Regions from separate parts of the Homo sapiens genome. Here region 2 is linked to region 1. Evidence: promoter capture Hi-C in 16 types of primary human blood cells and fetal thymus (Javierre and others, 2016). All regions are on one chromosome and are shown on one strand. Each heading gives the region's core, a stretch centred on a gene start or on the middle of the fragment in contact. The rest is flanking DNA. Distances are from core to core; before and after follow the strand shown. Region 1 holds the start of LINC02906 (long intergenic non-protein coding RNA 2906). Region 2 has its middle 91 kb from the start of RUNX1T1.

Evidence for each region. The method cuts DNA at HindIII sites, captures the fragments that hold promoters and counts their contacts. A CHiCAGO score of 5 or more calls a contact.
Region 2: a contact is called between a fragment that was not itself captured here and the fragment with the promoter of LINC02906 in region 1, in 1 of 17 cell types (M1 macrophages). The highest score is 7.2, in M1 macrophages.

Annotation. Positions count from the first base shown.
Region 1 is chr8:93,165,099-93,168,640 of GRCh38, reverse strand. LINC02906 (long intergenic non-protein coding RNA 2906) reads left to right here and starts at 1,791. Exons shown (of 3, transcript NR_161372.1): 1 at 1,791-1,910. It overlaps LOC105375644 (a long non-coding RNA gene), which reads right to left. Exons shown (of 5, transcript XR_928417.1): 4 at 1,630-1,751. The HindIII fragment of the contact is 1,956 bases long and covers 1,546-3,501 here.
Region 2 is chr8:92,192,563-92,196,046 of GRCh38, reverse strand. No RefSeq gene overlaps it. Among named protein-coding and RNA genes, the nearest start is that of RUNX1T1, 91 kb to the right of the region's middle. The HindIII fragment of the contact is 2,583 bases long and covers 289-2,871 here.

The sequences.
Region 1 (3,542 bases), core at 542-3,041:
CGATAAGAAGTTGGCTAAATTTTTCTTTTGCTCCAAAACTGTTTATTGTCTAGCCCATTCTTTCTCCACTAATATGAATATTTAACCTGAGAGAGAGAGGGAGAGACAATCAACATGACTGCAAAAACAACAAATGGGACAGTTGCCTGGATCAGCCCCCTCCTGAATACTGGCTCCTAATTCTGTAGTATGCCAGTGGCATTAGGAACACAGGCTTATATTTGCTCTTTCCATGAAGTAATTGCTGGTTCTGTTTATCTCCTTCTGCTTCCTGACACATAATGATTAGAGGTGCAAGCACTGGTGCAAGCATTCTGGGTTGGAATCCAGATGTCATCTACTAGCTAGTTTGGATTAGATACTAACTTTTTTAAACCTCAGCTGTCTCATTAGCAATTTGGGGATCATCATAGCACCTAAATGAAGGGATTATCCTGAGGATTTAAATGAATAATGTGTATAACTCATTTAGCACTGTGTCTGCATAGTAAACTCTGACAGATTAGATATTATTATTATTATCAGTATTAACCTTTCACTTTTTAAAATTTCTTCTTACATTCTCTTTCTCCCTAATTTATTTAGAATAGAGCATCATCTATTTTGATTCTCATCTATCCACTTTCCCTATTCTCACCCTCCTTTCCATCATGCTACAGACCAAAGTAGATGGTGGCAGAGTGCCTGGGTACGTTTATGATTTCCAAGAGTGCTCTTAAAAGCTAACATGCAAATTGAAGAGAGGTAATAGCTTGATCTAAAATGAGAAAGACTTGTGTTCTCACATATTAGACAAAAGCCTTAAAACTTCTCTAGTATCTAGCAAAATAGTCTGTATTTAGATCTGGTATTAAATAAAATATTTTTGACCAGGATGGTGAGAAAAAGTCTGTTCACTTCACATACAGGTCTAGCATACAATGTAATTACAAATAACCTCCCACAGGAGTGGCTGCAAAGGTGGCTCTGTGCAATTAATGGTAATGCTGTGTGTCATTTATTACCTGTGTTATTTAATCTTTAGTCTTCAATTTGTGAACTTCCTTTAGTTATGAAATTTCATGACTAAATAAAAAGAGCTTTGGTGAGGTGGGCATACCAATTTAAAAGTTCTTTTTGTATTATCAGTTTATTGAGTTATATACATAGAATTACACCGATAAATGAGTACACTAACATATTACAGAGTGATAAAGACTAAAAGAACACATTTACATAAAGTTCCTAGCACAAAGTAGGTCCTCAAAAAATGATGAATTCTTCTGAGATCAGATGAGAGTGTTGACCTGGAGGTATAAACTGAGAAAGGAAAGGAAGAAACATCAGGAACCTACTTCTTAACTCCTTAGAATATCCTATTTCCTGACCCAGAGGTGGAGAATGGCCTCAAGCTGGAGACAAAAAAGACCCTGATGTTGGGCTGTGGACCAAATATCCCACTTTACTCAAGATACCATTTCCAAGTCACATACTGTGGTAATTAACGCTATGTTAGTGACACTTCTGTAATGGGTTACAGATTGTTGCTGTGGTGTATACAAAGCTTATTGGATAAATGTCTTTAGGAAAGGAAAAGACATTAGTCTCTTAGTGATCAATAGGATAATAAATTGTGCTTTGTTTCTTTACCTGGATTTCATGTTTATCTTTAGAATAAATGTTAGCTTGCTCACTGCTTCTGTGGTTTCGAGGCTTGCAGTGTTGTGAAACACATAATCTTTTTCTTCACAGTTAGCAAATCCTTAGCTTCTCTGCTGGACAAATAGTCATGTGAGTAGAGAGAACATAAAATCAAAGCAACAAGAAGCTAGGGCAGAGGATTTAGAGGGCAAGCAAGCATGGGCCAGGACTTTGACAGCATTCATCCAGCAGCATGCGAACTCCAAAGAGAACCCGATCTCCAAAGACAAGTAAGTATCCATTTTCTACCCACCAAAAACACCCACATTTTCCCCTCCAAGATGCTCAGGACTCTGTGACTTATTTTGGAGGAATTGTCCCTTTATCACATTGTCAATATTCATAAAATGGCAGGTTTCTGACTACCCAGTACTTAAGAGCAAATACAAGTAACTTTTTAAAATAATAGCAACTTAACTATGTTATCCATTCAGCTCTAGTTCAGATGTAATCAGGACTTAAGATTCTGTAAGAGCCCATGTGGAAATGTTTGTCATTAGCAAGGGTATAAAAGGAAGAGAGGAGAGTTTTGTTGTTTCTTTTCCTCTTTGCCTTCTTTTATCAGAGTAATTGAAACAATCAGCTTCCTGACATCCTAAAAGATAATGATTCAGCCATAAAGAATGGGAAGAGAGGGCGGGGTGCAGTAGGTCACGCCTGTAATCCTAGCACTTTGGGAGGCTGAGGCGGGCGGATCACGAGGTCAGGAGATCGAGACCATCCTGGCTAACACGGTGAAACCCTGTCTCTACTAAAAGTACAAAAAATTAGCTGGGCGTGGTGGCGGGCGCCTGTAGTCCCAGCTACTCGGGACGCTGAGGCAGGAGAATGGTGTGAACCTGGGAGACGGAGCTTGCAGTGAGACGAGATTGCACCACCGCACTCCAGCCTGGGCGACAGGGCAAGACTCCATCTCCAAAAAAAAAAAAAAAAAAAAAATGAAAGAAGGAATGGGAAAAGAGAATGTAAAATACACCTTTATAGCTTTTTCTTTTGATTTTCCTCTCTACTGACCCATTCTGAAAGAAGGAGTTATCTATTACATTCTTTGCCCCACTTTGGTTAGCTGGCAGAAATAGAGAGATTTCTCTCCTTTTCCCTTTTGCCCCCTAGTAAATAAAATCTGTCCAACATTGATTGTAAATGTAGACAATCATCAACAGATTCTTTGAAATCAAAGTTAAAATTAAACATACTCAAGTGTAGCCAGTAGTCCTTCCAGACGAGAATGTAACATGGAGGCATGGACATTATTTAACAAATATTTATGATCTTCCTACTGTGTGCCAGGCACTCTGCTAGCATCTTGAATCAGAATGGAGGTATTCAGAAGGAACAATTTCAAACCAAAGAGGAGGACCAATTGCAAGATGATTTTAATTTTCCTCACAAATGTTATAAAGAGTATGTCTTTTTTAGTAACCTTCCACACAAATGGGTGTGTTGATGAACAAATGCAGATAAGATGTGCATGGCTTTCACTGAGTTGCATTTATATGCCTCATTATTTCTACATAAATATGCCCAGCCTGGCTTTTGTTCACTGCCATTTAGAGTGATGGTGATTAAAGTAAATACAAAAGTACAAATAAGAATGCTTTAAAACAATGGTGTAATCATTACTAATTCATTTTATATTTATTGTAGTATTAGCTCTAATGAACCTTCTTGATATTAATGTGGGTGTTATAAGTACTCTAAATTTTTTACTGTGTCAGTATTAATTAAATGAATGGTTATTATTACCTGTGTAATGGGCCTAGGAGGGATATTATTTTGGTGTTTATAAAAATCAATAGTAATGCTTTAATAGTAAAAGCTTGTTTTTATTTTTTCATGTTGATTATTGGTACTGCTTAATT
Region 2 (3,484 bases), core at 331-2,830, 970 kb after region 1:
TGTTGAGACAATCCTAAGAACAGTATATGCCAATATAATTTTCTCTGTGTATCCTGATATAGAGATGACTTTTGTCTTCAGTGAAAATAAAAATTCTATACACAAAAAGGTCTTTGTTGTCCACCACCATGTCTTATGTAAATGTATTGATCAGCACTTTTATAAAATGACAATTGATATTCTTACTAATGGCCCTAAGGTTCTGAATCACTGAATCATTTCAGATTCAGTAATGTTAGGGCTATTTAGAATTATTCTGGTTATTTGATTTTTTTACACTGCTAAGCTTTAATGTACCTAATAGGAGAAACAGTTAAAAAATTAAAAGTAGTTGCTTTTGGGAGAGCAACCAAGGTGGTGGTGGGTAGAAAAGAGAATACTTGTTTTTCATTATAAGCCTTTAAATACCATTTTACTATTAACCATTTTGCATATATTAAATTTGATTTTACTACTAAATTAATAATTATTATATATTAAACTAAATCGATGTCTCAAAATTGTAGCATGTAAAACATCATATTTTGACCTTCCCAATTGCCTTGTGGGGCAGACATGACACAACTTTTGACAGTTCTCTATTAAATATTATGTGATAAACATAATTTTTTCCTGGAAAACAGTGAAGAATGGAGAAAAAATAATTAAACCAAAACCTAATGCTTTAGAAAGACCAAAAATATTATAAACTTATAGCCAGACATACAGAAAAAAGTTTCAGGAATGAAAAGGGGAATATAACTACAGCCCTTATGAATGTTTAAAAGATAATAAAGAAATACTACCAACAACTTTGGGCCCACAGATTGGACACCTTGGATGAATGGACAAATTCCTCTAATGATACTAATTACCTAAGCTCACTAAAGAGAAAATAAATACAAAACCTACAGAACCATATATTTATTACAGAAATATAATTTTTCACTTAATATCTTGCCATAGAGAAAATTTAAGGTTCAGAAAGAGGTTCTATAACTATTAGATGAGTGCAAACATATTAATAATTGTGGGTTTTGCATTGCTGAAATTTGCCATTTGATATTGGAATACACTCTTAAATAGATGTGGTTATGTTATACATCATTTTAATGGGTATCTCTCTATTTATTTATTTTTGCTAATAACTTATTGTTTGCTGTTTAATTTGTGTTTATTTTAGACTATGGAAATTAGAGAAAAAGCAAATTCGAACAGTTTTCTTATTTGAGTTCAAAATGGGTCGTAAAGCAGCGGAGACAACTCGCAATATCAACAACGCGTTTGGCCCAGGAACCGCTAATAAACATACAGTGCAGTGGTGGGTCAAGTTTTGCAAAGGAGCTAGGAGCCTTGAAGATGAGGAGCGCAGTGTCTGGCCATCAGAAGTTGATAACGACTAATCGAGAGCAATCATTGAAGCCGAAATTGGAAAGGTGGAAAAGCTCCATAAGTGGGTGTCTCATGAGCTGATCGAAAATCAAAAAACTTCGTCGTTTTTAAGTTTCGTCTTCTCCTCTTCTACGCAACAATATGAACCATTTCTCTATTGGATTGTGACATATGATAAAAAAGGAGATTTTCTATGACAACCAGCGATGACCAGCTCAGTGGTTGGACCAAGAAGAATCTTCAAAGCACTTCCCAAAGCCAAACTTGCACCAAAAAAAGGTCATAGTGACTGTTTGGTGGTCTGCTGCCAGTCTGACCCGCTACAGCTTTCTGAATCCCAGCAAAACCATTACATCTGAGAAGCATGAAGCATGCTCAGCAAATCGATGAGATGCACCGAAAATTGCAATGCCTGAAGCCAGAATTGGTCAACAGAAAGGGCCCAATTCTCCACAACAACACCTAACCGCACGTTGCCCAACCAACGCTTCAAATTTGGCTACGAAATCTTGCCTCATCTGCCATATTTACCTAACCTTTGGCTGCCTACTACCGCTTCAAGCACCTCCACAACATTTTGCAGGGAAAACACTTCCACAACCAGCATAATGCAGAAAATGCTTACCAAGAGTTCATTGAACCTCAAAGTATGGATTTTTACTCTACAGGATTAAACACACATTTCTCAAAAATGTGTTGATTGTAATGGTTCCTATTTTGATTGATAAAGATGTGTTTGAGCCTAGTTATAATGATTTAAAATTAATGGTCCAAAACTGCAATTACTTTTGCACCAACCTAATAAAAGCACGCATTTAAAAATAATAATAGGCTGGGCGCAGTGGCTCACGCCTGTAATCCCAGCACTTTCGGAGGCCGAGGAGGGTGGATCATGAGGTCAGGAGTTCAAGGCCAGCATGAACAACAGGGTGAAATCCTGTCTCTACTAAAAATACAAAAATTAGCCGGGCATGGTGCTGTGTGCCTGTAATCCCAACTACTCAGGAGGCTGAGGCAGAAGAATCACTTGAACCCGGGAGGCGGAGGTTGCAGTGAGCCGAGATGGCGCCACTGCACTCCAGCCTGGGTGACAGAGCAAGACTCAGTCTCAAATAATAATAATAATAATAATACCAATTCTACACAAACTTTTTCAGAAAACAAAGTATACTAAAAGAAGTACATTTAATTATATGTAAATTTCCTGGTGGAATAATGGAAATGAAACTTACTAAACCAAGGTCAGCAAACCTGGCCTTTAGTCCCTGCTTCCTTATTCAGTAGCCAATTGTTTGACTTGAGCAAGTCATTTAAACTCAAATTTTACTTCATCTATGAAATGAGGACTAATTTTACCTGTTCTACTGATATCACAAGATTTTATATATCAAACTAGATAATATGGAACAATTTGAACATCCATATGCAATGGATCTTTTCCAGCTATGATAATAAGCATTTATTTTAATACCTATTCATAATTTGTTACAAAAACAAGCTTCAAGCATGACTGTTCTCTCATCTTATGTAGAAATTCATTGAAAATAATGTAAGATTGCTTGTGGTTTTATTCACATCATCTCAAGTTTGATCTTGTACAAGACACTGCTGATGTCATTGATAGTCATAACATTTATTATGTCCTGAATTTAAAAAGCAATCACAATATTTTACAAAAATAACTACTTTATTATAATACATTTATAATAATCATTTATGTATAATTTGGGGACTTTTATAATTACTTAACATTATGACAATAATATCATAGAAATTTTATTACCTATTTGAAATTTGGGGATTTTTTTGGGTGTTTTTGTTTTGTTTTTGAGACGGAGTCTCACTCTGTCACCCAGGCTGGAGTGCAGTGATGCAGTCTCAGCCCACTGCAACCTCTGCCTCCCAAATTCAAGCAATTCTTGTGCCTCAGCCTCCTGAGTAGCTGGGATTACAGGCACCCACCACAATGCCCGGCTATTTTTTTTTTACATTTTTAGTAGAGATGGGGTTTTGCCATGTTGACCAGGCTAGTCTTGAACTCCTGACCTCAGGTGATCTGCCCACCTTGGCCTCCCAAAGTGCTGGGATTACAGGCATGAGCCATCATGCCCGG